Linked DNA regions of Homo sapiens: region 2 is linked to region 1. Evidence: promoter capture Hi-C in human tissues and cell types (Jung and others, 2019). All regions are on one chromosome and are shown on one strand. The core of a region is centred on a gene start or on the middle of the fragment in contact, and the rest is flanking DNA. Distances in the headings are between cores, read along the strand shown.

Region 1 (3,032 bases), core at 1-2,500:
AAAAAAACCAACACTCCCTATACACACACACACACACTCCTTCTCTTTCTCTCTCTCTTAGGACCCCAAGAAACTAAGACCCGATGATACAAATTCACTGTTTCTCTTTCTCGTCACGGAAAAGCAGCTTGGAGAATCTACTGGTTACTAAATTGAAGACAAAAACAAAAAAGATACGTATACTGTGATGAACACGTCACGTTTCTCTCCTCCAACCTACCAATAACTTCATAAAAGTTAAAGAGCTTCCATCCCTTCACGCTCAGCTGCGGAAAGGCTACGCTTTCGCCCGCCGCTCGCGTCCCCGGCCCGGACCGCGGCCGCCCCGTTCGCCGCCGCGCCTCTCCCCGCCCGGCAGGCTCCGCCGCCCTCCACGGCCGACCTGGCGCAAGGGCCTGTGCAGCCACAACCTCCGGAGCGCTCCGGACGGGACCGGAAAAGCAGAAGCTCCAGCGCAACCGACGGCGGGTTCCGCGGCGCAGTGCGCCGCCGTCCCCCTCCCGCTCCCACCGCCCACCACCCACCAACACCGCCCCGCGCTCCCGCAGCGCCCGCCGCCCCGGCCCAGCCTGGCCCGCACCGGCGTGCCCCGAGGCGAGTCGCGGCAGCCCGACCCGAGCAGGGGAGGCCAATGATAAGGCGAGCACCTCCTGCGGAAAGACCGACCCCCGGCAACTCCTCACCTGCGTCCATCTTCCCAGTCCGGCCGCCGACTGACCCGAGCGGCGTCGCTCCGACGGGCCAGCAACGCGACGCGGCGACGGGACGCCGCGGGGGCCAATAGGTGTGCCGGCGCAGGCGGCGAAGACGATACGGCGCGCGAGCGGAAATACGCGGGAGCCGCCATTTTGGCGTACGGCCGGGCCGACGCGAGCCCCGGGGCGCCCTGCGGGCGGCATGGGGTCGTGTCGTGGGACGACGGCTGGTTCTGCTGTCCGACGGGACACTGTGTGCCATGGGTGGCGCTTCCTCCTCTTAGAGGACCCAGGAGCAGTTGTCGAGGCGGCAGAGGCGAGCTCTGTCCCCGTCCGAGCAGCCATCTTGCGGTACGGACGTGCTCGGCGCGCCCATGTCGCGGTACGGACTTGCCCCGCCGGGGCGACTCCCCCGCCCGTCTGCCCGCCTGCCGACGGACGCTGCGAGGGGCCTGCGGCGCCCCGCTGGTCCGAAGACGCCCGAACCCGCGGCTGGCGAGGACGCGGGCGGGGGCTGGGGCGGGGGCGGGCCCGCTGCGGGCGCCTGCGCCTCCATCTTGCCGTACGGCGCGGACGCCGCGGGCCGGCCCACGTCCCGAGCCGTGTCGCCGCCGCGCTCCCTCCCTCGGGGCGGTCCGCGGGCGGGCGGGCGGCTAGGGCCGGGGCCTGGCTGCGCGGCTGGGCCAAGGCCCGCGATGGTGATCTGCTGTGCGGCCGTGAACTGCTCCAACCGGCAGGGAAAGGGCGAGAAGCGCGCCGTCTCCTTCCACAGGTACGCGGGCCCCGGGCCGCCACGCCCCCGCCCCGACCCGGCCCTGCGGGGAAACTGAGGCCCCGCGGCCGGCCCGAACGCGGGGGGCGGGGGCGCCGGGCCTCGGCGGCCGGGGCGCGGGGGAGCGGGCGTGGGCGCTGTGTGACCTTGGCCCGGCCGCCGTCTCTGGGCCGGGCGCCTCGGGCAGCGCAGCCGCCCCCACCCCGGCCGCCTGGGTCCGCCCTGCGCGCGATCGATCCGGCCGGCGCCTAGGCTTCAGAAGCCGCACGCTCTGGAAGCGCAGGTCCTGGGCCGATTGTCCTGCTCGGCCGCGACTGCTGACTCTCCGGACCGCGCGGGCCGTCGGCCTGGATGTCTGCGAGCAGGAGCGACCGGGCAGACGCGACCTGCGCCTCCGTAGCTGACAGCCCCCGAGAGGGCTTTCCGGGACTGGGCCCCCGAGCCCAGGACGCGGGTACGCGCGGAGAGTCTACGGGACGGCCGGCTGGGGACGGCATCCTCCTGCGCTCCCTTAGAGCCTGGCCCGGGGCTCTCGGCCGCTTCCCACGTGGGCCCCCGCGGCAGGGCCCAAACCCCTCTAAGGCCTTGTGAGTTCAGCCTATTTCAGTGAGATTTCTGCGGATTACACGCGGGAGGCACCAGAACCGCGAACAGACTTTAAAAACCACTTTGGAGATGTTTCTGTTTTATGTTGCATGGTGTTATTTAAGTTTTAAAGACGGGAATGGCACGTGTTATTTATAGGGTTATTGAAAGTTCACAGTAGTTTGCTGTAAGTCTTAAATCATTACAATGTATTATAAGAATTAGTAACATTAGATTATTTCACAAGTCAGCCAGCGCACTTTCTTGACAATTTCCTTCAGAGCTTGTGTCCTAGAAGTTTTGTTATTGTTTTTTGAAAACGAGGCAACGTGTTGCAACGGTCTAACATGGTATGGGAGGAAAGGACATCGGAATTGGGGGTGGGGGGGTACCTTTGCAGTTGGCCTCACAGTGTTCAGAAAGGAGGTTAGAAGGTCCTGTTGCTTAGAACGGCCCAGTCCATCCTGTTAGGATTTGTCCTGGTCCACACTGGCCTCAGGTGGAGCAAATAGCAGTTAGAACTGACCACCCTGTCCCTTATGTGCACATTAGGGCCTGGTTTTTTTTTCTTTTTTTCTCTTTTTTTTGAGAAGGAGTCTCCCTCTGTCGCCCAGGCTGGAGTGCATTGGTGCGATCTCGGCTCACTGCAACCCCCGCTCCTGGGTTCAAGCTATTCTCCTGCTTCAGCCTCCCAAGTAGCTGGGATTACAGGCAAGCGCCACCACGCCTGTCTAATTTTTTTGTATTTTTAGTAGAGACAGGGTTTCACCATATTGGCCAGGCTGGTCTCGAACTCTGGCCTCAAAGTCCTGACCTCAAGTGATCCACCCGCCTCGGCCTCCCAAAGTGCTGGGATTACAGGCATAAGCCACCCCGCCCGGCCCAGGCCTATGTTCTTAAACACAGAGTTTGCCTTAATGAAGAAATGGTTATGAAGGATCTTTATTAGGTAATAAAGAAATGACTAAACATCCTATTCA
Region 2 (3,287 bases), core at 703-3,202, 550 kb after region 1:
CAGGAGTTTGAGGCCAGCCTGGCCAACATGGTGAAACCCTGTCTCTACTAAAATACAAAAATTAGCTGGGCATGGTGGTGAGTGCCTGTAATCCCAGCTACTTGGGAGTCTGAGGCAGGAGAATAGCTTGAACCCAGGAGGGCGGAGGTTGTAGTGAGCTGAGATCGCTCCACTGCACTCCAGCCTGGGCGACAGAGCAAGACACTGTCTCAAAAAAAAAAAAAAAAAAAAAAAAGAAACCGCAGAAAGGCCATGCCATAGAACTAGGGCAAAATTAACCCCAGAATAAAGGCTACTCCAAAGCCACCTAAAACAAGCCTCAGAAGGATCAAACTATACTCAGATAATGCCTTGCAGAGAAAAAACATTCTTGAAAAGAAAACAAACAAACAAACAAATCCAGCGTCAGTAACATAAAACTTACAATGCCCAGCATCCAATAAAAAACTATAAGACATTCAAGAATCATTTGAATAATCAAAAAAGTGACCCATAACCTAGAGAAAAATAATCAAATAGAATAAGACCCAGACATGAGAGTGATGACAGAAATAGCAGATGAGGACCTTAAAATATCTATTATAAATTTGTTCCACATGTTCAGTGAGCTAAAGGAAAATATAAAGATAATGAAGATAGAAATTGGAGCATCTAAGAAACAACTAAATGAAACTTCTGGAGATGATAAAACACAGTATTAATAAAACTTTTGTTGAACAGGATTAATGGTAGATGCTGCAGAAGAAAAGATCAATGACCTTGAGTGCATAGCAATAGAATCTGTCCAAAATGAAAAGACTGAAAAAGTTGAGAAGAGCTGCAGTGACCTGTGGGACAATATCAGTCTAATACACGCATAACTGGAGTCCCAGAAGTAGAAGAAATGGAGGGACAGGAAAAATATATGAAGAAATAATGGCAAAAATTTTACGAAGTTTGACAAAATTAAAACCCAGAAATACAAGAAGCTTAAACTCCAGAGAATCAAAACGTAGCCATACCGAGAAGCACATCATAATTAAATTGTCCAAAAACAGTCATAAAGGGAAAACATAAAAGGGGCAGGAAGACACATTCCATACAGTGTAACACAGGTAAGAATGACTGCAGTCTTCTTGTCTGGAACTATGCAAGCCAGAAGACAAAGCCATGACAACTTTTAAGTCATGAAAGAAAAAAATATAACTGTCAATCAAGAAGTCTATATTCAGCAAATATATTCTTCAAAAATGAAGGTGAAAAAAAAATAGTTTCAGACAAAAGCAGAGAGAATTCATCTCCTGCAGACCTGTGCTATAGGAGATGTTAGAGTTAAGTTCTTATGGCAAAGAGAAATGATACCAGATGGAATCCTAGATCTACAAAAAGGAATGAAGAGTGCTGGAGTCGGCAGGCAGATGTACAATAAATACAAAATACTTTACTTTCAATATCTAAAACAAGATAATTTTTGAGTGCAAAAATAACGTATAGTGCAGTTCACAGCATATGTGGAAGGAAAAAGTCTGATAATAATTCAAAGGATGGGAGGGAAGTGGAAGCTTGATGTCAGCCGCTGCCATGGATACTGAAGTTGTCTACTAGTGATTAAAGGTATGCGGCGTGAAGTTGAAGATGTGTATGGTAAATCCTAGACACTGCTGGCCGGGCACAGTCACTCACGCCTGTAATCCCAGCACTTTGGGAGGGCAAGGTGGGTGGATCACCTGAGGTCATGAGTTTGAGACCAGCCTGGCCAACATGGTGAAACCCTGTCTCTACGTAAACTTTGTCTCTACTAAAAATACAAAAATTAGCAGGGTGTGGTGGCAGGCGCCTGTAATCCCAGCTACTCGGGGGGCTGAGGCAGGAGAATTGCTTGAACCCAGGAGGCAGAGGTTGCGATGAGCCAAGATCGCACCATCGCACTCCAGCCTGGGGGACAAGAGGGAGACTTTGTCTCAAAAAAAAAAAAAAAAAAATCCTAGACGCTGCCATCATATTGAACTCGTACAATAGTAATTAAGGGTACATTGTGTTAAGGTGAAGATGTGTATGGCAAATCCCAGAGCAACCTCTAAACAATAAACCTAAGAAGTATAACCAGTAAGCCCATAGTGGAGACAAAATGGAATCCTAAAAAGTAATCCAAAATTAGGCAGGAAAAAAGAAAAAAGGAACAAAAAGCAGGTGGGAAAAATAGAAAACAAATAGTAATATGGCAGTTTAAATCCAACCACATCAGCCATTATGTGGAAGGTAGTAAATGGTCTAAATACTCCAATAAAAACCAGACTGTCAGACTAGATATCCAGCAAGACCCACCTCTATGTTAAATACTAGAAAGTCACTTGAAATATGCAGATAGGTTAAAAGTGAAAGGATAGAATGCTTTCAGGAAGTGAAGGGTCTTCTTGTTGGATACTTGGTGGTCACCAGCAGGCACTGGTGTAACTAAGCACAGCGGGAAGATGGCAGATACTGTGGATTCGGACTCTCACTGCATAGAATCCGAATTCAGTGGGCTGTCAACACGGCTTCCCAAATCCCAACACAGATTAGTATCTCATATGTGTTCCTGCTACATATTACACCTGGCTTCATGTCCAAGCTCTAATGAAGCTTCTACCCTTGCCCGTCTACATCCCATTCTCCACAGAGCATCCAAAGTAGTGTAATCGAACATGTCACTCTTCTGCTCAGAACCCTTCAGTAGCTCCTCCCCATTTCATGCCGGACAAACACCAGAGTCCTTCTGTGGGTCTCCATGGCCCCGAGGGTTCCCTGTCCCTCACCTCTCACCACTCTCCACTTCTCCCCCAACATGCCAGGGACACTCCTGACTTGGGGCCCTGGTAACTGTCCTCTGGCTCTGGAATGTCCATCCCTCCTCCATGTCTGTTCAGCATCGCCCTCCCCAGGAGGCTGCCCTCTTGCTGCACCAGCCCTGCCCATCCCCAGCAGGCTCTCCTGGTCTCGTCCTGTCATCTCGTCCTTTTTCCCTTTGCACTCACCACCTGCCACACCACACACCACACTCTCACTGCTGTCTGTTGTCTGTCCCCTCATCTGCAATGAACGGGTCCTGAAGGCAGGGCTTTGGTCTGCTCTGTTCTGATGTGTGCTGAGTATCTAGAACAGTGCCCGGCACACAGCAGGTACTCAGTAAGTCATCTGTTGACTAAATGGACAGTGCCCGGCACACAGCAGGTGCTCAGTAAGTCATCTGTTGACTAAATGGACTGTGTGACCGACAGAGTCATAGAGTGTTAGCAAGAAAGGACCTAAGAGATGGGCTGGGCATCTCT

The links. Contacts are between HindIII fragments. The study calls those that stand out against the background at their distance.
Region 2: a fragment that was not itself captured here is called in contact with the fragment with the promoter of THAP4 in region 1 in 1 of the 25 tissues and cell types used here (dorsolateral prefrontal cortex).

Annotation. Positions count from the first base shown.
Region 1 is chr2:241,635,376-241,638,407 of GRCh38, reverse strand. THAP4 (THAP domain containing 4) reads left to right here and starts at 1,250. Exons shown (of 6, transcript NM_015963.6): 1 at 1,250-1,467. The coding sequence starts at 1,391. ATG4B (autophagy related 4B cysteine peptidase) reads right to left here and starts at 715. Exons shown (of 13, transcript NM_013325.5): 1 at 684-715. The coding sequence starts at 693. RefSeq lists silencers at 258-397, 438-627, 648-697, 1,068-1,417, 1,448-1,517 and 1 more and an enhancer at 167-1,094. The HindIII fragment of the contact is 20,762 bases long and covers 1-3,032 here.
Region 2 is chr2:241,082,809-241,086,095 of GRCh38, reverse strand. The region is part of intron 29 of SNED1 (sushi, nidogen and EGF like domains 1); the gene reads right to left. It also overlaps a transcript of MTERF4 not described here. Among named protein-coding and RNA genes, the nearest start is that of MTERF4, 18 kb to the left of the region's middle. The HindIII fragment of the contact is 4,214 bases long and covers 1-3,287 here.